Linked DNA regions of Homo sapiens: all the other regions are linked to region 2. Evidence: promoter capture Hi-C in 16 types of primary human blood cells and fetal thymus (Javierre and others, 2016). All regions are on one chromosome and are shown on one strand. The core of a region is centred on a gene start or on the middle of the fragment in contact, and the rest is flanking DNA. Distances in the headings are between cores, read along the strand shown.

Region 1 (4,366 bases), core at 610-3,109, 210 kb before region 2:
CACAGACGCACGTCGAGACCAGTTGTGGGCTGCCTCATTAGCAGTGGCACCCGACTGACATCTCCTCGTGTTTTACACTTGAAAACCTGGAGTCACACTCGGAATGAGTCCAGCTTCCTCCCCTTCAGCCACCTGGAGATGCAATCATTTCCTTTATCTGGCTAGATTCTATCTGCCCCATTCAAAGCCACGGGCCTTTCCCCAGTTTTAATTACCTGTGGCAGGAGGTGACTCACGCAGCCTTGGAATCTAATGAGGCTGTTGCTGGTTAGACAGGTACACTCACACACATGCACATACCCTCACATGCACATACACGTGCACACACAGCACACATGCACACAAGCATGCGTGCACACGCACTCACACATGCACGTGCACTCATGCTCACACGCATTCATGGACACACATGTACTCTCGCATGCACACATAGCTTGTCGGCCCCGGGCAGTGAGGCCATGTGCAGTGGCAGAGGCTCAGCACATGAAGCAGCACTGAGCATTTCCTGGCTCCTGTTGCCAAAAATCACATCTTTATGCAGTAATCTGCCAACAAATTGTTAAATGTTAGAAGTTTACAAGTTCCCTTTTCCTTCCCCCCTCTTTCCCTTTGTCCCTCCCTCCCTTCCTTCCTCTCTCCCTCCCACTCTCCTTCCTTCCTGTTTCTCCCTCTCTCCCTCTCTTTCTCTCTACACTTATTTACTACCCATCAGGTGGCCGGCATTGTGCTTGGTGCTAGGATAACAGTGGAGAAAACGCTCGGCAGCTGTGGGCCTCGTGGATTTGGGGAGATGGACGATACACAAGTGAAAATGGATGAAGGGAGCATCCAGCGCTCCAGGCGGTGAGGAGCGGCCCAGGGCGCACCCCATGAACCCACACAGCCCCGGGCGGGGGGGAGGGGGCTTCCCATCTGCAGTAGCTGTAAAGGGTCGTTCTGGGAGCATCACAGGCAAAGGCCGGGCTGAGCAGAGGGTGAGGGGTCCAGGAGCCAGTGGGCCGGGGCCTCCTGCAGAGGCCTCCTGGGCAGAGCTGGTGGGGAGAAGTCTGGTGCCGTGGGCTCCGTCGGGCAGCCTGGGGGTTTGGAGCTTACCCTCCTGCGAGGAGAGACTGGAGGAGGTTGAGGAGCCGCACGCTGGGACTCGGGTCTTCAAGGGGTCCCTCTTGCTGGTGAGTCGGGTTGAGGGAGGAGGAGGCTGGGAGGCTGGGAGGCTGGAGGCTTAAGTGGGGGCGGGGGCGCCAGGGGGCACTATGGAGAGGGAGACAGCAGGTGCACTCAAGATGGATTCGGAGTGGAGTCCACAGGATGGGCCGATTGATCCGAGATGGATGCAAAGTGGAGTCCACAGGTTGTGCTGATTAATCTGAGTTGGATTCGGAGTGGAATCCACAGGATGGGCCAATGGCTTGGAGGGGGCGGAGGGAGAAAGGGAGGACGAGGGCTTGCCAGTGGGACACCGGGCAGGGGGCGGCTGGAGCCATGGGGAGGACCGAGGGGCCGGGAGCAGGTTTGGAGCAATGGATGTGGGGCCTGTTTTGGATGTGGGGCCTGTGAGATGCTACGGCGACACGTTTGTGTATTCGGCCACAGCACCCATTCTCCCTGATTTGGGTGGCGCCCCCTCCCCCATTTCCTTTAGGGAATCACCTCTTTCCATAGCAGTCGCACGGGACATGGGGAGCGTGTGGCCATTTCCTCAGCCACCGGGGTCCCACCTCCTGGCCTGTGAGCTGAGGGTCCCAGGGACAGAGCACACCCAGAAGCCTGTGCTCCTCCCGGGAGGCCCTGTGGCTGTGAAGAGGCTGTGCCCCCAAGACGCCATTTTGCAGAGCCCAGCCGGATGTTTTAGCGACACTGTGACCCCGGAGCTGGTGGAGAGGCACTTCATCCCCCAAGGGCGGGTTTCATTCTCAGCAGCACAGGGACCCTGGCGCTGGGCCTCTGAAGGTTCACCCTGCGGGGTGCAGGAACAGACATGGGATCTCCAGCGGCTGCAGGGAAGAGGTGCAAGCCCCAGCCAGCAGAGCCTCTGGAAGGGGTTAGGTCGCTGCGGGCGAGGGCCTGGGCATAAATGCGGCATTCTCGGTTTCGATGCTCCCCTGTAACTGGCATCTGAAGTTTCTGGTGAATTCCAAGGGAGGCCTCCTGCCAGGCTTTGCTCCCTTGGGGAATGTTCTCTGTAAGAGCCGAGGCCATCACGGTCTCTGCCTGCCTCTGACAATTGTCACACTCACTGACCTGTGCCTTGTGAGCTTGGTTCAATTATCTAACACACACCTGGTATTTAATTCTACCTTTTACAAAACACCCAGCCACGGTGGATCAAGGAATCAAATTTGCTTTTAAAAAATACCAGTATTATTGGAACAAGAAACCAGCTAGAGATGTGTGTGCGGCCGTATAAGCAACAGTGTCTGAGCGACTCTTATCACCTGGGCGGATGGAGTGCAGCCTTTGGAGGAAGCGTGGCTTTAGGGCACAGCACGTTCACAGGGAGGAAGCGGGAATGACAGCACATTCACAGGGAGGAAGCGGGGATGGAGAGGCAGGGGGCCAGTGTGGAGGGGTCGGAATGACAGCACGTTCACAGGGAGGAAGCGGGGATGGAGAGGCAGGGGGCCAGTGTGGAGGGGTCGGTATGACAGCACGTTCACAGGGAGGAAGCGGGAATGGAGAGGCAGGGGGCCAGCGTGGAGGGGTCCGGTGGTGTTGACCTCTGCCAACACACAGGGGTGCGGGGACACAGCCAGGCTGCTGCAGGGCCTCATGGGGTTGCAGGGAGCCCCACATCCATAGCAAGCAGGCCGTCCGCCCCGGCATGCACACGGCACACAAGGCAGGGACATTTGTTGGTTGGTTGGCTCAGCATGCACGGGCATCGCTCAGCCTGCCGGAGCAGGGAGTAGCCGGGATTTGGCCAAGGGCTTCCGAGCCCTGGGCAGAGGCTGGGCTGTGTACCCCATCCCTAGACACCACCACTGAGGACACAGCGCCCGGCCTGAGGATGGTTTCATTCCTGGGGCAGGAGGACTCTGGGTGACTGGCGCGGCGGGGTGCTGGCACCGGTGCGGGGAGGCCAGCTTCGTGGGGTGGGTGACTGGCGTTGCGGGGTGCCAGCCCGGTGCAGGGAGGCCAGCCGCGTGGGGTGGGTGACTGGCGTTGTGGGATGCCGGCCCGGTGCGGGGATGCCAGCTGCGTGGGGTGGGTGACTGGCGTTGCAGGGTGCCAGCCCGGTGCGGGGAGACCAGCCGCGTGGGGTGGGTGACTGGCGCTGTGGGGTGCCGGCCCGGTGTAGAGAGGCCAGCCAAGTGGGGTGGGTGACTGGCACTGTGGGGTGCCGGCCCGGTGCGGGGAGGCCAGCCATGTGGGGTGCTGCTTGGGTGGCAGTGTTTCTCCTGGAATCTCCTCACCAGTGGCGGGTGGGCACAGTGCGTGCTGCTGGAGGGGCCACAGGCCCTGTCCCAAGCTGGGGTCTCCTGGACCAGCCCAGAAGGAGTGAAATTTGAGTAACTGCAAGGAAAGGCCAAGAATTCCGCAGTCAGCTCACAGCCTTGGACGTGGCCCACAGGCAGGGACGGGGAGACCTCGCCGGCTTCAGAGGGTGTCAGGGACCTGGACCCTGGAAGCAAAGGTTAGGAGCAAGGAAGCAGCGCCACCCCTCACACCCCACCTGGAGGCCTCGGTGGGCCCAAGGCGCCGACATGGAGCTGGTGAACAGACATCCTCGCTGGGGCCCCTTAATCAAAGCCTGTGTCCCTTGTCTGGAGATCCCCAGTGACGCTCTGCCCAGCCAAGGAATCCAGGGCCACCCCCGTGAGGGGATCCGGCCTTCTCCTTGGGCTCCCTTGCCCCAATCCTGGCCTCTCTCTGAACCTGTGGCTCACAGCCAGGTGAGGGCACAGAAATACTGCGAGGTCTGGAAAGAAGCCGAACCCGGGTCTCCCCCGACCTGCCTGGGCAGCCGCAGTGCTTGCAGCGGGAGCTCCCCCAAGGATGTCTGTTCACCAGCTCTGTGCCGGCGCCCAGGCCCGACCCAGGCCTCCAGGTGGGGTGTGAGGGGTCGCGCTGCTTCCTTGCTCCCAACCTTTGCTTCCAGGGTCCTGGTCCCTGACACCCTCTGAAGCCTGCGAAGTCTCCCCCTGCCTGTCTGTGAGCCACGTCCAAGGCCGTGAGCTGACTGTGGGATTCTTGGCCTTTCCTTGCAGTTACTCAAATTTCACTCTTTCTCGTCAACCTGGGCTTCATTCCCCTGCCTGCCACTGCCCCTCCTCATCCACTGCCCCCACTTTCCAAATGGCTTACGGTGCTGGTCTCAGTGTGGCTGAATTTCTCCCTGAAGCCGCAGCACTGGTTCCCAGTCCATAGA
Region 2 (3,956 bases), core at 974-3,473:
GTTCTTGTCCATTACATCTTCAAATATTTTACTACCCCTATTTCACTCCTCTCCTTGTAGGATTTCAATCATTTTTCCCATAAATTTTCACAAAATATAGGCATGTTTATTGCTCCACTTTCTTTATTTCCCTCTTTTCTTTCCCATCTCTGTATTCAGGCTTGAAATTTCCTCATCTCCCTTCCTTTACTAATCTTCTCTTTGGTTTTGTCTATATGTTGTAAAGCTAAGCTACCTAGTTCTTAATTTCAGCTATTGTGTTCTTCGTTTCCAGAATTTTTGTTTGATTCCATTTAATAAATCCAGTTTGACACTGAAATTCTCCATTTGTTCTCTATTTTCTTGAGCAAGTTAATCAGCATTAAATTCCAGTTTCACAATTCTAATATCTAGATCTCCTGCACGTCTGTTTCTCTTGTTTGTTTTTTTCCTCTTGGTCTTTTGGTCAGTTGGTCTTGTCTTCTAATATCCCTAGTAATTTTTTGACTGCATGAAGGACTTTATGAAAATTTATAAGATGATTTGAGCCTCTGTTGATGCTGCTGTCTCCAGAAGAGATCACTTTTGTTTCTGGGAGGCAGTTAGGCTACAGGCAGATCATATGAGTTCAGTGCGAGTTTATTTAAAGATAGGTTTCATTCTTTCTGGTTTTTCCTTCCTCCTAGGGAGTAGCCCTTCACTTACATTCAGCATTTCCAACTGAAAGCCTAGGGTGTTTTTGCTAGAATCCCTCCACCTTGTCAGGTCCTGAACTCTGTGGTTTTTTTCTTCTAATTCCATGAGACTACTAAAAGCTCTGCTCAGCTGATCAGGCTCTCGGCCTCTTGGCTGTGGTCTGTAAATTGGTAAATGCCTCAGTAAGAAAATCCACAAGGAATATTGGACTCACTTCTGTGCAGTTTCTCTCTAATGCGGATTCACTCACTCAAGTCTCAGCTGTCTTGATACCTCCCGGCCCCTTCGAACAGAGATTTTGTTTGTAAACCAGATTTCCTAATATTTCTCAGCTAGATGGCCAGTCTGATGTAAGCCAGTTCCCCACACACGAAAGGAGAACTTGACAGAGCATTTTATACAGCATAAGAAAAAGGTGGCACAATGGAATCGCGTTCAGAGCTCAAAATTACTCTTCAATAATTTCTCCAAAAAAGTTTATTATTTCAGCCCATTTTTATAAAGGCTTTTCCTTGGGCCAGGCATGATTTTAGGCCTTTGAAGACTGAGTGGTGAACAAGACAAACACACTCCCTGCTCACATGCAGCTTACGTTTGAAGAAAGGAAGCTGAGGACAGCAAGGACAATGAACAGGAACAGGGAAGACACGTGGTGCAGAAATACTGATGATGGCCAGGCACCGGGCTCACGCCTGCAATCCCAGTACTTTGGCCAAGGCAGGAGGGATCACTTGAGACGCCATCTGTACAAAAAAAAAAAAAAATAAATTTAAGAATATTGATAACGGGACTTGAGTTATCTATGGTTGAAGCACATCATAAAGCTATGGCCTTTAAGAGCAGAACCAAATCCATGGGCCAGTTCAAAACTTTTCTTTCCTGTCCGAAACCCAGTCCTATCCCCAGCGTTCCCACACCAACGTCTGAGTGGACCTCGGGGAAGGCCGTGGGGAGGGGCATGGCCTCTCCTTCCTTGCTCCCCTTCTCCCTGTTTGGGGCTCTAATTTCTTCAGTGATGGGGATGGGGGAAGGAATGTGCAGGGCCACCACTGTGGGGTTCGCTGGCCACTGCTGCACCTTCTCTCCGGCTGCTCCAGTGATCCTGTGCTTCTACCAGCTGCTTCTGCCTCTTCAGTGAGGACCCGCTTTAGGGAGGAGACGCCCCCACGATCGTGAGTGGGACAGCTCTCACCCTGGCATGCCACACTTTGCATAAGGCTGAAGGGCCACCCCTGCCTCCGCAGCCCCCTTCTTACAACCCGGACTGCACTGGTGGCGTGCTGGGACCAGGTCCACCTCCACTCTTGCCCCCAGGGATCCACATGGGACAGGCTACAGCCCAGACAGGACAGGAGATTTATGACCTGGGCCACATCACAGGCAAACAAACATCCCTAGTCATGACACACGCCACCTCTCAGCAACCAGGAAGGGGACGCTGTGGGCCCTGGAACAACAAGGCCAGAAGGGGTATAAAAGCAGAGCCCCACGAAGCTCACACACTCACTCACACACTCAGTCACTCACACACACACTGACTCCCACACTCACTCACTCACACCTCCCGCAGCTCACCTCCTCCCCACCCCAGCATGGCCGCGTCCACCATGTCCGTCTGCTCCAGCGCTTGCTCCGACTCCTGGCAGGTGGATGCCTGCCCAGAGAGCTGCTGTGAGCCCCACTGCTGCGCCCTCAGCTGCTGCGCCCCGGCCCCCTGCCTGACCCTGGTCTGCACCCCAGTGAGCCGTGTGTCCAGCCCCTGCTGCCAGGCAGCCTGTGAGCCCAGCCCCTGCCAATCAGGCTGCACCAGCTCCTGCACGCCCTCGTGCTGCCAGCAGTCTAGCTGCCAGCCGGCTTGCTGCACCTCCTCCCCCTGCCAGCAGGCCTGCTGCGTGCCCGTCTGCTGCAAGCCTGTGTGCTGCCTGCCCACCTGCTCTAAGGATTCCTCTTCATGCTGCCAGCAGTCTAGCTGCCAGCCAACTTGCTGTGCCTCTTCCTCCAGCCAGCAGTCCTGCTGTGTGCCTGTTTGCTGCAAGCCTGTGTGCTATGTGCCCACCTGCTCTGAGGATTCCTCTTCATGCTGCCAGCAGTCTAGCTGCCATCCAGCTTGCTGCACCTCCTCCCCCTGCCAGCAGGCCTGCTGCGTGCCCGTCCGTTGCAAGCCTGTCTGCTGCAAGCCCATCTGCTGTGTGCCCGTCTGCTCTGGGGCTTCCACTTCATGCTGCCAGCAGTCTAGCTGCCAGCCGGCTTGCTGCACCACCTCCTGCTGCAGACCCTCCTCCTCCGTGTCCCTCCTCTGCCGCCCTGTATGCCGGCCCGCCTGCTGTATGCCTGTCTCCTCCTGCTGTGCCCCTGCCTCCTCCTGCCAGGCCAGCTGCTGCCGCCCGGCCTCCTGCGTGTCCCTCCTCTGCCGCCCCGCGTGCTCCCGCCCGGCCTGCTGAGGCCTCTGCTCAGGCCAGGAGTCCAGCTGCTGATGGGCACCCGCCCTGGGCCAGCTGGGCTCAGTTCCTGACCTGGGTTAGGTGGCTTCCCCCACCTAGGACGGGTCCCCGTGTCTCCCCTGTGCTGAGGTGACCCCCCCTCCTTGCTCCCAGGAGCCTCCATCCTTGCAGCTCCCCAGCTCTTGCCTTCCAGCAGGTGCCCACCTGCCTGCTAGGTCCCCTGTCCTCCCTCCCAGCTTCTCTGCTCTGGGTCACTTGGCCTCGACTTGAACCTCTCAGCACCTCCTCCTGCTCCCCAATAAACTCTCCTTGGTCACCTGATTCTCTTTTCTGTTGTGTTCCTGGGGGACACATGGTTTTGAGCTGACATTGGTCTCCTCCAGCCATGATTATTTTTAGGAATGAGTGACTTAACCTAGAAGTCACAGGGGACAGTGGCCTAACTCCTCCAGGGGGTCACCAGGTGGGACTCACGGTCACTCCCAGGAAGGCTCAGTCCCAGCTCAGCCCCTGTGCCCGGGTCTTCCTGAGCCTGGTCATTCGCTGTCATGCCCTGGGCTGTGGGGCTCTCCAGGCCCCAGGACTGTCCCACCCACTCTCTCACCTGGGAGAGCCCACACTGCAGGGTCACCTTCCGGGAAGCTGCCCTGGGGTCCGGGCACTGCAGCCTCCAGGCCTGGTCACCCTCCCTGTGTGCCGCCCGCCCGAGGGTTCTGCCCGTTTTAGCAGCAATGCGAGGGGAGAGGGAGGGGCTGCTGCACCTGCGCAGGAGACAAGGGACTCGATGGGAACAAAAGCATCATGGGGTGGGCGGATGGAGGCACAGGATTCCCCAAAACC
Region 3 (4,550 bases), core at 137-2,636, 240 kb before region 2:
GGAAGACCAGGGTTGAGGGATTAGGATGGAGAATAGAACAGATTAGTGAATGAGAGGACTAAATAATGAGAGTCCGCAGGCTGTGTCTTTAAACACCGGGAATAACTCTGCTGACCCTGCCACGCTCATGGTGGAGTCTGAGCCTGCAATCAAATCGAGCGTGGCTGGGATGGCGGCACACCAGGGGATGTGGCCACCGTGGCTGTGGGTGCTAGCATGGCCTGCTGCTCTTGGCCCAGTCACTTTGCCTCTCTTTGACTTATTTGGATCAAAACAGAGAGGTTTATCAGCATCTTCTAGACAGATGGTTACAGGTCTTGCCCAGCTCTAGGGTCCATGGCCCGTGACCCCATTGCCACTAAGCCACGGTGACGGGGGTGTAGCTGCAGAGAGGGTGGGTGCCCTCTTTCATTGATGCACTTATGTGGGACAGAAGGAGTCCTAGACAGCTGTTCATCCCCAGTGGCCGGACAAGGCGTGGAGTCCCTTGGCGCTTGCTGTCCTCTGTGTCCTGCCCCAGCATTCCCAAATCAGCTGGCTTGGTGACCTTCTTGTCTGGTTCATGCCTGACTGCTGTCACCTCCCCAGACCAGTGGTTCTAGAGGCTGTGGTGAAATAAGAAGGACCTTCCTTTACTGAATGGTGTGTTTGGGGCCCAGTTGGTGGATGGATGCTCCCAGGTTCTCCAGCTGGCTCATGGCAGCCAGCTTGAGGGCTCCCAGGCTGCCGCGGCTTCTACCAGGAGCCCTTCTCACACTGGGGGCCAGTGTCCGGGGCACAGCAGCCTCCCTTTATGTCCAGGTTTCTTGTTGACTGAAGACTGTCACAGGGCATCTCTTGGCAGTATTATGCCTTGCTGAAATAAACCCGAGATAATAAAATAGGTGTTTATAATTTGTATTGTATGTAATCTCACCATAGCATTTTCTTCAACAAAAGTGTCACAAAGATCCCTATATGAAGAAGTTATTGCCACATTCATTGCAGTAATAATAATAAAAAAGGAAACATCACTGTTCCACATAATTTATGGAGCATCTATATAGAGTAATGCCATGTAGCTGTAAAACAGTTCAGGTGGAATTTTCATCCTGGCATGGAAAGATGTACACAATATAAATGGAAAAGGCGGATTCTAGAATAATAGGTCTGGAACCGTCTGTCCGTCCTTCCTTCCTCTCCTCTCCTCCCTCCTCTCTCTCTTCCTTTCTCCCCTCCTTTCTTCCCTCCCCTCCCCTCCCCTCCCTTTCTTATGGAGACATGGTCTAGCTCTGTCACCCAGGCTGAAGTTCAGTGGCCTGGTCACAGCTCACTGCAGCCTCAAACTCCCAGGCTCAAACAATCCTCCCACCTCAGCCCCACAAGTAGCTGGGACCACAGGTGCACACCACCACGCCCAGCTAGTTTTTAAAATGCTTTGTAGAGATGGGGTCTTGCTCTGTTTCCCAGGCTGGTCTCGAACTCCTGGCCTCAAGCAATCCTTCTGCCTCAGCCTCCCAAAGTGCTGGGATTACAGGCAGGATCCAAGGCACCCAGCCTAAACAGCTTTATTGAGATAATTTACATACTGTAAGTTTTACTTGCATTAAGTATAAAAGTTAGTGGTTTTAGTAAATTTCTAGAGTTTTGTAGTCATCACCACAGTCCAGTTTTAGAACATTTCCAAAAAGATTCTTATGTCTATGTGCAGACAGTTCCCATTCCAACCCCCAGGCAATCCCTGCTCTTTCCTCTGACTATAGATTTGCCTTTTCTGACTTTTCCTATGTGTGGAATCATACACTGTCTAATCATCTGTGCCTGGCTTCTTGTACTTGGCAGAATGTATTTGCAGTTCATCCATGTTATACCATGTATCAGCAGCTCCTTCCTTTTCCATTCCCCAGTTGATGGACATTTGGGCTTCCTACTTTTTGGCTCTTTTGAGCAATGCTGCTGTAAACACTTGTCTTGTCACACTGTCTGTGTGGACATGGAGTTCATTTCTCTAGACCAGATATAGAGGTGTGGAATTGCTGGGGTGTGGAGTAAATTTGCGTTTAATGTTTTAAGAAACTATCAGACTATCTTCCTAGAGTAGCTCACCATTTTGCATTCCCAGCAGCAGTGTATGAGCATTCCAGTTTCTCCACTTCCACACCAACACTGCTGTTGTCTGATAACAGCTGTTCTTGTGGGTGTAAAGTGGGGTCTCCTTACAGATTTGACTTGGATTTCCTTGACGACTAATGATGTTGAGCATCTCTTAATGGGCTTATTGGCCGTTCATGTATCTTCTTTGGTGAACTTCAGAACTTTTCCCCATTTTTATATTCGGTTGTTTTCTTGTTGATGGAACGTTAAGAGTTTTTAAAATATATTTTGATACAAGTCCTTCATTAGACATAGGATTTTTAAATATTTTCTTCCAATCTGCAACTCTCCATTTTGTTTTCTTAATAGAGTCTTTTGAAACTAAAAAGTTGTTAATTTTGATGAAGTGTGATTTTGCATTTTTTTTCTTATATAGAGCATGCTTTTGGTGTTGTATATAACCCAAGGTTGCAAAGATTTTCTCTTATGTTTGCTTGTAGAAGTTTTGTGTTTTTTCACTTTTACATTTAGGCCTTTGATCTATTTTGATTGACTTAGTGTCATGTATGGAGTTAGGTGGGAGTCTGTTTCATTCTTTTGTATGTGGTTATCCAGTTGTCTCAGCACCATTTGTTGAAAAGACAGTTCTTTCCCCATTGCATAATTTTGGCACCTTTGTCAAAAATCAGTTGACTATAAATGCAAGGATTTATTTTTGGACTCTGAATTGCATTCCATTGATCTATGCCTATCCTTAGGCCATTACTACACTGTCTTGATTACTGGAGCTTCATGGTAAGTTTTAAAATTGGGAAATTTAAGTCCGCCAACTTTGTTCTTTTTCAAGATTGTTTACTAGGCCATTGCATTTCCATTACATTTTAGGGTCAGCTTGTCAATTTCTACAAAATGCCTGGTGGGATTTTGATTGAGACTACATTGAATCTTTAGATAAGTTTGAGGGATATTGCCATCATATCAGTACTGAGTGCTCTAATCCATGAACATGGACTGTCTCTCCATTTATTTAGGTGTTTTAAAATTCTCAGCAATGCCATGATACATTTGAATTTTTAGAAATCCAGTTTTGTAGATTAGAGTATGTGAATTTATACACACATAGAGAAAAGCTGGAACAATAACCAAACTTAACTCTGGTTACCTCAAGGAGGTGATTTTGGGAGGGGGAGTGAGGGAGGTATTTGCTTTTTATTTTATATACTTCTGTATTTGAATATTTTCCAACATTCTTTTATTTTCCTAGTTAAATAAGGTCAAAGTTTATGTTGTAAAAGTGATTGTCTATGTTAGAATATACTATAAAGTTCTTATAATTGATGAACTTATTTAGTACACTTTATAGTTCAAATATATTAGATTTAAAAATTTTAAGAAACATCTATATTGCAAAAAATAATTAGGGTATGGCTGTAGATGCCTTTTGGACAGGTTTAACTATGAAAATAATTATATGGAGCAAAAGCTATATTTGCCCCTACTATGATTTCATAAAATGGAAATGTTCCCCCTTTTCTTCCGAGCAGTTCTTAGCATTGGTTATCTACCTGAGTATCGCCTGGGGTGCTTAGAACACCACAAAACAGAAAGGAAACACAGGGGATCTCTGGGTTTAAACCAGAGCCAGGGCCCTGCTCTGGGGGTGAGGGTCAAATATGTCATCCTGGTGGAGACCAAGTGCTGGAGGAAAGTGCAGGAAGGCACTTCCCCAAATCACGGCTTCTTACAGCCTCGTCCTCTTGCTACGAGGGTATTGGGATCAGTTTCTATTTAACTCCTCACTGCCTGGCACAGCCACAAGCACAACCTGGCATAGCAGAGCCAGTGTCCTAGGGCTTTTAAAGTGCCCAGTGTGGGGGCTGTGTGTGCAGCCCACCTTGGTCCTGCTGTCCTGGGCATTAGTGGGGTGGGAACATCGGCAAGAAGCTTTTGCTGAACTGCAGAGCAGGGACTGAAGGAAGGAGACGCACCCAAGCTCAGATGCCGGGAGCCCTCATGCCCTTCCTGCTGGGTGCCCTCTGTCGATTCTGTAGCGTAAGGGAGGTGCTTATCCTTCCCCCAGAGTGGAGGGTGCCCATGAAGCAGTTTGCCCTTCCCGTCTCCAGCTCAGCTGGCTCCAGCTTTTGGAGGGCCATCGTCCCTTAGTCATCCACTTCAGGTTTTAAATACTGATGGATGAGTTTGCATTCTCTGTGATTTTAATTCTTTATCACATGTGCGTTGGAGACTTCTTGTCTATGTGCTGTGACAAACTTGATAAAGAGAACAGCAGCAAAAGCAGTCGGCTTTCCCAACACCTGCGTGCAGCTGAAGTGGCGAGCGCACCAGTTCCTGGAACACCGCTTGCCGGCGAAGCTCAGGGCACCCACTTGCCCTGGGTGCTCCATAAGGCACTCTGACCTGCCTGCTGCTTCTCTTATCTAGAAAGTAAAAAGTGTTAGAAAGGCAATGCAAAGAAG
Region 4 (4,454 bases), core at 1,955-4,454, 190 kb before region 2:
AGATATACTTTTTTTTTTTTTTTTTTTTTTTTTTTGAGATGGAGTTTTGCTCTTGTTGCCCAGGCTGGAGTGCAATGGCGCGATCTCGGCTCAACACAACCTCTGCCTCCGGGGTTCAAATGATTCTCCTGCCTCAGCCTCCCGAGTAGCTGGGATTACAGGCATGCGCCATCACGCCCAGCTAATTTTGTATTTTTAGTAGAGATGGGGTTTCTCCATGTTGGTCAGGCTGGTCTCGAACTCCTGACCTCAGGTGATCTGCCCGCCTTAGCCTCCCAAAGGATATGCTTTTATCTACCTACTCTTGTTCTGAATAATGACCTCGTGTGTCTTCTCTGAGGATGGTTTTTCCTGAGCCCTGGCTGCCAGGGCGTCTCCCAGGGCTGCAGGTGTCTCCAGGTCTCTCGTCCTCTGGGTCTCTCACTGCTGCCCCGGACTCCATCCCCTTTCCTGTCCCCTCCATGCAGGCTCCACTGTTCCCAGGACTCTCAGCTCTTCCTGCTGCTTGTTCACTCTGCTCCCGCAGCTTGGAAGCCTGTGGGCCACTTCCTGCCACTTGCCTGAAGGACGATGACCCCTCAGAGAAGCTCAGCAGCCCAGGACTGCCCCCATCTTCTCCGCCCACAGCACCCCTAGGGTCACGGTGCTGCCTTGCTGTGCCACCCGGCTCATGTGCCCCTCCCATGCCACTGTCACCAGTGCCAGGCCCTGGGAGCCCAGGGGTCTCTCTGGAGCAAGCACTCCCTCGGGGTTCGTGAGGCAAATGAATGATGTATGATCTCTAATACTGTCAGCCATTCTGATGGAAAGCGCTGGCACTGTGGTCCCTGGAAGTCCATTAGGACTGTGGTGACAGGCTGTCCTCGTGAGGTGTCCCTTCCTTCGGGGAAGCCTGGGGTCTTCTGACCAGAGGCCTCAGCCGTCCTCTGAGCTCTGTGGGCTGAGAGTTGAGGCTGGGCCCATTTGAGCATCACCTGGATGTGGGCGCTGAGCTGGAACTGGGATTTTCCAGGGACCAAGGCTTAGGAACAGCCAAGCAGTTCACAGGAGGCCAGAGAGGCTGCAGCGGAGGGGAGGCTGTGGCGGAGGGGAGGCTGTGGCAGAGGGGAGGCTGCGGCGGAGGGGAGGCTGCGGCGGAGGGGAGGGGGAGTTCAGGGCAGCTGTGCTGGGTGCAGCAAGGAGGCCTAGATCCTGAGTAGGAGCAAGTGAGGGGCACATGTCCCTCCAAGATGGAGAAGGACCCTGGGGGGACCAGCACCTCTGCTGGGGATGGAGCTGTGGTGTTTCTCAAAGTGGGGTCAGGGCACTCCCAGCCCATGCTGACCTCACAAGCTGGAACCCCCAGGGTTTTGTGTGCACTGGACTTTGAGAACCCTGTCCAGGAGGGGTCCCTTAGAGGAAGAGGCGGCAGGGCTGAGTAGGGAGGGGTGCCTTCAGGAATGAGGACTGTGGAGGGGAGTTGGTGTGGACAACCCAGATGGCTGTGCTGGCCCTTGGTGGAGAAAGGGACAGGCTTGGGGTGGGGAAGACTCAGAACTTGGCGGCTGTGGACCTGGGGAGGAGGAGCGGGTGTGGCTGGCTGCTCAGCTGCAGGAGCAGGAGCAGGCACCGGGAGCCTTTCCGGCATCTGTGATCTGCAGGGCAGCTGGGGCGGGCTCATGGTGCCCAGCAGGTGGGTCATGAGGGCTGTTGGTGAGACCCGGAATCAGCCCACCATGGGGATGGTGGGTACAATCCCTATGAGATGCCTGGGCACACTGAGAGCTCCTTATGGGATAAAGACTCCATCCCCACAGCCCCCACCACCACTGAGGCAGGCTCCCCCTCCCTCCAGCAGGCAAAGGCACTCACCCAAGCCCACACAGGAAAGATCTTCCCAAAGGAAAGCTTGATTCGTGACAAAGTCCACAAACTGCCACAAATTCTATTTCTAGTGAAGCTGAAAAAATGCACACTTTTTAAATAGCCTGCCTGTCCCTGAGTGCCACAAAACGCAATTTAAGGTAAACACGTGGGTGCCTCAGTGACAACATTTGCAACATTAACCTCGCTTTTAAAATTAATTTTTAAATTGAGGAATAACATACATATAAAATGTACCATCTGCACCATTTTAAAGCGTACAGCTCAGTGACGAGAAACACGTTTAGATTTCCCTCCTTTATCGCCCCTCCGCCTCCTTCCTCTGGGAACCGCCATTCCACTCTCTGCCTCCACGGGAGCCTCTGGTTTAGCTTCCACACGAGTGACAGCGTGAGATGTTGGTCTTTCTGTGCCTGGCTTATTGCGCTTAACATAATGACCCCCAGTTCCATCTATGTTGCTGAAAATGACAGGATTTCATTCTTTTCGATAGCTGAATAATATTCCATTGTGTATATTTACCACATTTTCTTTATCCATTCATCCACTGATAAGCCCTTAGGTTGATTCCGTATCTTGGCTATTGTGAACGGTGCTGCAATAAACACAGGAGTGCAGAGATCTCTGACATACTAATTTCCTTTCTTTTGGATAAATACCAGTAGTGGAATTGCTGGATTACATGGTAGTTGTGCTTTTCGTACTGTTTCTCATAGGGGCTGTACTGTGCTACCTTCCCACCCACAGTGTTCTACACCCTCACCAGCGTCTGTTATTGCCTGTCTTTCTGATACAAGCCATTTTCACTGGGCTGAGATGGTAATGCACTGTGGTTTGATTTGCATTTCTCTGCTGATTAGTGATGTTGAGCATATTTTAAAACACCTGTTGGCCTTTGTATGTCTTCTTTTGAGAAAAGTCTGTTCACATCTTTTACCCATTTTTAATCGGATGATTATTGTTTGTTATTGTTGTTTGGAGATAGGGTCTCACTCTGTTGCCCAGGCTGGAGTGCAGTGGCACAGTCATGGCTCCCTGCAGCCTCTGCTTCCCGGGCTCAAGCAATCAATCACCAATCCTCCCGCCTCAGCCTCCGGAGTAGCTGGGACCACAGGTGTGCAACAGCACGCCTGGCTAATTTTTGTATTTTTTGTAGAGACAGGGTTTTGCCATGTTGCCCAGGCTGGTCTCAAACTCCTGGGCTCAAGCAGTCCACCTGTGTTGGCCCCCCAAAGTGCTGGGATTACAGGTGTGAGCCACTGCACCTGGCTGCTTTTTTTTTTTTTTGGCCATTGAGTTGTCTGAGCTCCTCATATATTTGGGTTATGAATCCCTTGCCATATGGATAGTTTGCAAATATTTTCTTTGATTCTGTGGGTTATCACTTCACTTTGTCAACCTCACTTTTTTGAACTTGCCATTTCTGTCTTTGGCAAAATGTTAAGCAGGGCACAGGGTGGCCCTTGGGGAAGTCCACACAGTGACTGCAGCCTGGTGAGCCCTTTCCAAATGAGCCAGTCTCCAAGGCTTACCCCAGGCCCCAGGTCCCCGCGACACACTCCAAAAGCTCCAAATGAGCCAGTCTCCGAGGACTCAGGTCCCCGCAACACGCTTCAAAAGCTCCAAATGAGCCAGTCTGTGAGGACTCAGGTCCCCGCGACACGCTTTAAAAGCTCCAAATGAGCCAGTCTCCGAGGCTTACCCCAGGCCTCAGATCCCTGCGACATGCTCCAAAAGCTCCAAATGAGCCAGTCTCCGACGCTTACCCCAAGCCTCAGATCCCTGCGACATGCTCCAAAAGCATAGTCCTAGTTTAAGACTTTTTTTTTTCTTTTTTTTGAGACGGAGTTTTGCTCTTGTCGCCCAGGCTAGAGTGCAATGGTGTGATCTTGGCTCACCGCAACTTCTGCCTCCCGGGTTCAAGCAATTCTCCTGCCTCAGCCTCCTGAGTAGCTGGGATTACAGGCGCCCGCTACCACACCCGGCTAATTTTGTATTTTTAGTAGAGATGGGGTTTCTCCATGTTGGTCAGGCTGGTCTCGAACTCCTGACCTCAGGTGATCTGCCCACCTCAGCCTCCCAAAGTGCTGGGATTACAGGTGTGAGCCACTGCGCCTGTCCACTTTATCAGATTTTTAAAAATGTACTAGAAAATCATAAGAAGAAAAATAGCTCATAATCGCAAATGATCCCTTTTGGTCCTTCTAGAAAAGAAGTAATTCATGATTGAAACCTGGAATATTTAGATATTACAGAAATGTGCACAGAGCCAGAGCCTTCTCACCTGGCCCCACCACCTTCCCCACAGAGCCAGAGCCTTCCCACCTGGCCCCACCACCTTCCCCAAAGAGGCTCCTCTTGGATTCATTCTAGGAAGTCACTCCTACACACACGCCCGTCCACACTCACAGCCGCACCCACCCACACAGACCCTGAGCCCCAGTCAGCACCTGGCTGCCGGAGGGCACATCCTGCATCTGTGTCCTTAGAAAACCGGGTTTTAAAAACACCTTAAGATAACAAGCGTAGCACACCAATATGGAGGCCAGAATACTTGGAGGCAGTCTGGGATCAACAAGCCATCAGGCAGG
Region 5 (4,467 bases), core at 1,695-4,194, 150 kb before region 2:
GCCTTGTGTGCATTATTTTCATGATAGGCACTCAATAATTGTTGTTTATTATGACTTTATCAATACATGTGTGCTAAAACTGCCTATTCTTCCATTTGACTGCCTTTAAAAATGTTTTTTTTGTGATAAAATATATATAACATAAAATAGCCAACTATTTTTATCTTTTAAACATCGTGGTAAAATATACATAGCATAAAATTTACCATTTTAACCATTTTTAAGTGAACAATTCTGTGGGTTAAGTACATTCACAGTGCTGTGCAACCACCACCACTGTTCACCTCTAGGACTGTTTCTTCTTCCCGAACTGAAACTCTGTCCCCATTAAACATTCACTCCCCATTTCCTTCTCCCCACTGTCACTGGTCACTTCTATTCTACTTTCTGTTTCTGTGAAGTTGCCTGTTCTAGATACTTCATGTAAGAGGAATCAAACAATATTTGTTTTTTTTGTGACTGACTTATTTCACTTGGCACAATGTTTCCAATGTTTATCTGTGTTGCAATATGTGTCAGGACTTCTTTCATTTTTATGGATAAATAATATTCCTTCATACAGATATACCACATGTTTCTTTTCATGTGGAAATCTAGTTTTCCCAGCACCATTTGGGGAAGAGATGATTCCTTCTCCATTGAATGGTCTTGGCATTCTTGTTGAAAATCGGTTGACCATGAATGAATAGCTTTATTTCCGGACTCTTAGATTTGATTGCTTTTTGTGTCTATCCTTATGTTAGTACCACACTGTTTTGATTACTGTAGCTTTGCAGTAGGTTTTAAAATTGGGAAGTGTGAATCCATTCATCCATTCATCTGTTGGTAGATACTTGGGTTATTCATACCTTTTGGCTATTATGAATAATGCTGCAAAGAATGTTGACATACAAGGATCTATTTGAGCCTCTCTCTTTTTATTTATTTACTTATTTTTAGTTCTTTTGGGTGCTCCTTATTTCCTGAGTCATGTGGTAATTCTATGTTTAACTTTTAAGGAACCACCAAAATGTTTCCGCAGTGGTTGCACTATTCTACATTCCCACTGGTAAAGTATGAGGGTTCCAATTTCTCCACATCTTTGCCAACACTTGTTATTTTCCTTTAAAAAAAAAAAATTACAGCCATCCTGGTAGGTGTGAAGTAGCATTCATTGTGGTTTTGATTTCCATTTTCCTAATGAGTAATACTGTTGAGCATCTTTTCATGTACTTATTGGCCATTTGCATACCTTCACTGGAGAAATGTCTACTCAATCTTTTGCCTATTTTTTAGTTGGGTTGTCTTTTTGTTGTTGAGTCACAGTCAGATGTATGATTTGCAAATATTTTCTTTCATTCTGTGGATTGTCTTTTCACTTTCTTGACAGTGTTCTCTGATTCAAAAAAGTTTTAAATTTTGATGAAGTCCAATTTATTTTTTCTTTTGTTGCTGGTGCTTCTTGCGTAATATCTAAGAACCTAGTGTCAAATCCAAGGGAATAAAGCATTTTTCCCATCTTTTCTCCTAAGATTTTGATGGTTCCAGCTACCATATTTAGGGCATTGATCCATTTAGAGTTAATTTTTATATATGATATTAGGTAAGGGCCCAACTTCATTCTTTCCCATCTGTAAATCTAGTTTTCCTAACACCATTTGTTGAAGAGATTATTCTTTCCTTATTGAATTATCTTGACACTCTTGTTGAAAATCAGTTGGCCATAAATGTATGAGTTTATTTCTGACCTTTGAGTTCTATTCTATTGGTCCATATGTCTGTTCTTAGGCCAGTACCACACTGTTTTGATTACTGTAGCTTTGTAGTACGTTTTGAAATCAGGAAGTGTGAATCCTCCAGCTTTGTCCCTCTTTTTCAAGATTGTTTTGGCTATTCTGAGTTCCTATAATCCATATGTGCTTGAAGATCAGCTTTTTCATTTCTGGAAAAAAAAAAGACTTGGAATTTTGATAAGGACTGCATTGAATCTGTAGATTTCTTTGGGTAGTACTGCCATTTTAACAACATTAAGTCTTCTAATCCATGAACATGGATGTCTTTCCATTTATTTAGGTCTTCTTTAATTCTTTCAGCAATGTTTTACAGTTATCATTGTACAAGTCTCTTACCTCCTTGGTTATATTTGTTACTAGGTATTTTATTCTTTTGGATGCCATTGAAATGGAATTGTTTTTCTTAATTTCCTTATCAGATTTTTCATTGCTGGTGTATAGAAACATGCATGATTTTTGTATGTTGATCTTGTACCCTGAAACTTTGGTGAATTCTTTAATAAAGCTCTAGTAGCTTTCTTGTGGATTCTTTGGGATTTTCTATAGACATGATCATGTCACCCGTGAATAGAAATAATTTTACTTCTTCCTTTCCAATTTTAATGACTTTTATTTATTTATTTTTCTTGTTTAATAGCTCTGGCTAGAACTTCCAGTACAATGTTGAATATTGGTGGTGAAAAGGGACATCCTGTCTTGTTCCTAATCTTAGGGGGAAAGCTTTCAGTCTTTCACTGTCAAGTATAATGCAAGCTGTGGGTTTTTCATACATGCTGTTTAGCATGTTGAGGAAATTCCCTTCTATTTCTAGTTTTCTGAGTGTTTTAAAATCATAAAATGGTGTTGGACTTTGTCAAAGCCTTTTCTTTGTTAATTGAGATCATGTGGGTTTTTTCACTTCATTCTCTTCGTGTGGTATACTACATTGATTATTTTTAATCTGGAGCTATCTTTGCATTCCTGGGATAAATCCAACTTGGTCATGGTATATAATCCTTTTAATATGCTGTTGGAATCACTTTGCTAGTATTTTGTTGAGAATTTTTGCATCTGTACTTACAAGTCATGTTCGTCTGTGATTTTCTTTTCTTTTGATGTCTTATGTGGGTTTGGTATCAGCATAATGTTTGCTTCACAGAGTGAGTTAGAAAGTGATCCTTCTATTTTTTTCTTTCACAACTTGAGGAGGTTTTTGTTAAATTTTAAAAAAATGTTTGGTGATATTCACCAGTAAAGCTGTTGTTGGGTGGAGTGTCTATACATATCTTTTGTGAGTAACTGGTTTATAGTGGGTTCAGTTCTCTATTTCCTATTGACCTTCTGACTAGATGTTCTGTTCATTATTGAAAATGAAATATTAAAGTCTCCAACTATTGTAGAACTATTTCTCACTTGAATTCTGTCAATGTTTGCTTCATATATGTGGGGACTCTTTGTATGGTGCATATATGTTTCTAATTCTCATATCTTTGATGAGTTGAATCTTTTATCAATACATAATGTCCTCATGCATTTTTGCAATTGGAACAATATGGATGAATAGGTCCTTGATGTTCTGTCTCTCAGTTCTTAGGGTCTTAGTGTACGGATGGGGACATAAGGATTCTTGAAAAAATAAGCTTATTATAGAGAAAGTCAGCTGTGAGTAATGGCTGATACAACATATGTTGTTAACAGTTATACGTTAGAGACATAGGGGTGAGTGCCATTCTTTGCTATCAGCTCTGTTCCCTGGCCTAATGATGCACATGCTAATTCCGTAATCTCTTAGAGCTTGGGGAGAGAGAGGGACTCAAAGCAACAAGGTTGTAAAATCATGTTCTTAGGAGACATTTCAGATGTTACCTAGGTAAGGGGGTGAGCTGGGGAGAGAGAGAGAAGTGTGGAGAGAGGAGAGAAGGGGAGAGGAGGCGAGGGGAGATGAAGGGAAGGGAGGGGAGGAGGACAAACTAATAGGTGTCTGGATTCTCCATCCCACTTTAAATTAGAGAAGCTGTGTTTTAATCTGTTTTACAGACTTGACTTCTAGGTCAGATTCAGTTTGAAAAAATATTTCCACTACTTTAAAATATTTTGAAAAGAGCCTGGCATGGTGGTGCATACCTGTAGTCCCAGCTACTTGAGAGGCTGAGGTGGAAGGATCACTTGAGCCCAGAAGCTTGATGCTAGACTGACAACATGGCAAGACCACCCCTTCTCTATAAACAAACAGACAAACAAAAATGTAGAAAAGCAAATGACCACACCCCCAGAGGATAAAATACATGCTACTTAGCCTTAGAAAAACACATATGCTTACTTAATAGTTTTATGGTTAATAATTTGCTGTCATGTTTACTGCTTATCTTAAGAACTGCTTATCTTCTGTTTAACCTGTTTATTTACAGCATGCTCATCTTTGAAAGCGTGGGCTGAATGCTGACCTCCCGGACATCATGAGTGTTGTTCTGTGAGTCTGTAGCCTTCAGTGCTGCTGATGAGATGTCTGATGCTAATCTGATTTTTATTGCTTGTGGGTGACTTGTTCATTTGTTTGTTTGTTTGATTTTCTGGAAGCCCATGGGAACCACTTGTTATCTTTGATGTTATATCATTTCAACAGAGGACATATCTAGGATTTTTCCGTTCATTTTTCTTGGCATCACTTGGTTCTTTTCAGCCTGAAGACTGTGTCTTTAGCCTTGGGAAATGCTCC

Evidence for each region. Contacts are between HindIII fragments. The CHiCAGO score rates a contact against its expected background, and 5 or more counts as called.
Region 1: a fragment that was not itself captured here is called in contact with the fragment with the promoter of KRTAP10-1 in region 2 in 5 of 17 cell types (total CD8 T cells, naive CD8 T cells, total CD4 T cells and 2 more); the score reaches 9.7 in total CD8 T cells.
Region 3: a contact is called between a fragment that was not itself captured here and the fragment with the promoter of KRTAP10-1 in region 2, in 4 of 17 cell types (naive CD8 T cells, total CD4 T cells, total CD8 T cells and 1 more). The highest score is 8.3, in naive CD8 T cells.
Region 4: a contact is called between a fragment that was not itself captured here and the fragment with the promoter of KRTAP10-1 in region 2, in 5 of 17 cell types (total CD8 T cells, naive CD8 T cells, naive CD4 T cells and 2 more). The highest score is 8.4, in total CD8 T cells.
Region 5: a fragment that was not itself captured here is called in contact with the fragment with the promoter of KRTAP10-1 in region 2 in 3 of 17 cell types (naive CD8 T cells, total CD8 T cells and naive CD4 T cells); the score reaches 6.0 in naive CD8 T cells.

The regions. Positions count from the first base shown.
Region 1 is chr21:44,748,939-44,753,304 of GRCh38, reverse strand. No RefSeq gene overlaps it. Among named protein-coding and RNA genes, the nearest start is that of TSPEAR, 40 kb to the right of the region's middle. The HindIII fragment of the contact is 6,978 bases long and covers 1-4,366 here.
Region 2 is chr21:44,538,462-44,542,417 of GRCh38, reverse strand. It overlaps KRTAP10-1 (keratin associated protein 10-1), which reads left to right and starts at 2,223. Exons shown (of 1, transcript NM_198691.3): 1 at 2,223-3,437. The coding sequence starts at 2,268. The coding sequence ends at 3,116. The region is part of intron 2 of TSPEAR (thrombospondin type laminin G domain and EAR repeats); the gene reads left to right. RefSeq lists enhancers at 2,821-3,485, 3,839-3,956. The HindIII fragment of the contact is 15,900 bases long and covers 1-3,956 here.
Region 3 is chr21:44,780,861-44,785,410 of GRCh38, reverse strand. The region is part of intron 3 of UBE2G2 (ubiquitin conjugating enzyme E2 G2); the gene reads left to right. Among named protein-coding and RNA genes, the nearest start is that of UBE2G2, 19 kb to the left of the region's middle. The HindIII fragment of the contact is 5,266 bases long and covers 1-4,019 here.
Region 4 is chr21:44,724,185-44,728,638 of GRCh38, reverse strand. No RefSeq gene overlaps it. Among named protein-coding and RNA genes, the nearest start is that of TSPEAR, 15 kb to the right of the region's middle. The HindIII fragment of the contact is 2,630 bases long and covers 1,890-4,454 here.
Region 5 is chr21:44,690,299-44,694,765 of GRCh38, reverse strand. All of the region lies in intron 1 of TSPEAR (thrombospondin type laminin G domain and EAR repeats), which reads left to right. Among named protein-coding and RNA genes, the nearest start is that of KRTAP10-12, 4.6 kb to the left of the region's middle. The HindIII fragment of the contact is 899 bases long and covers 2,495-3,393 here.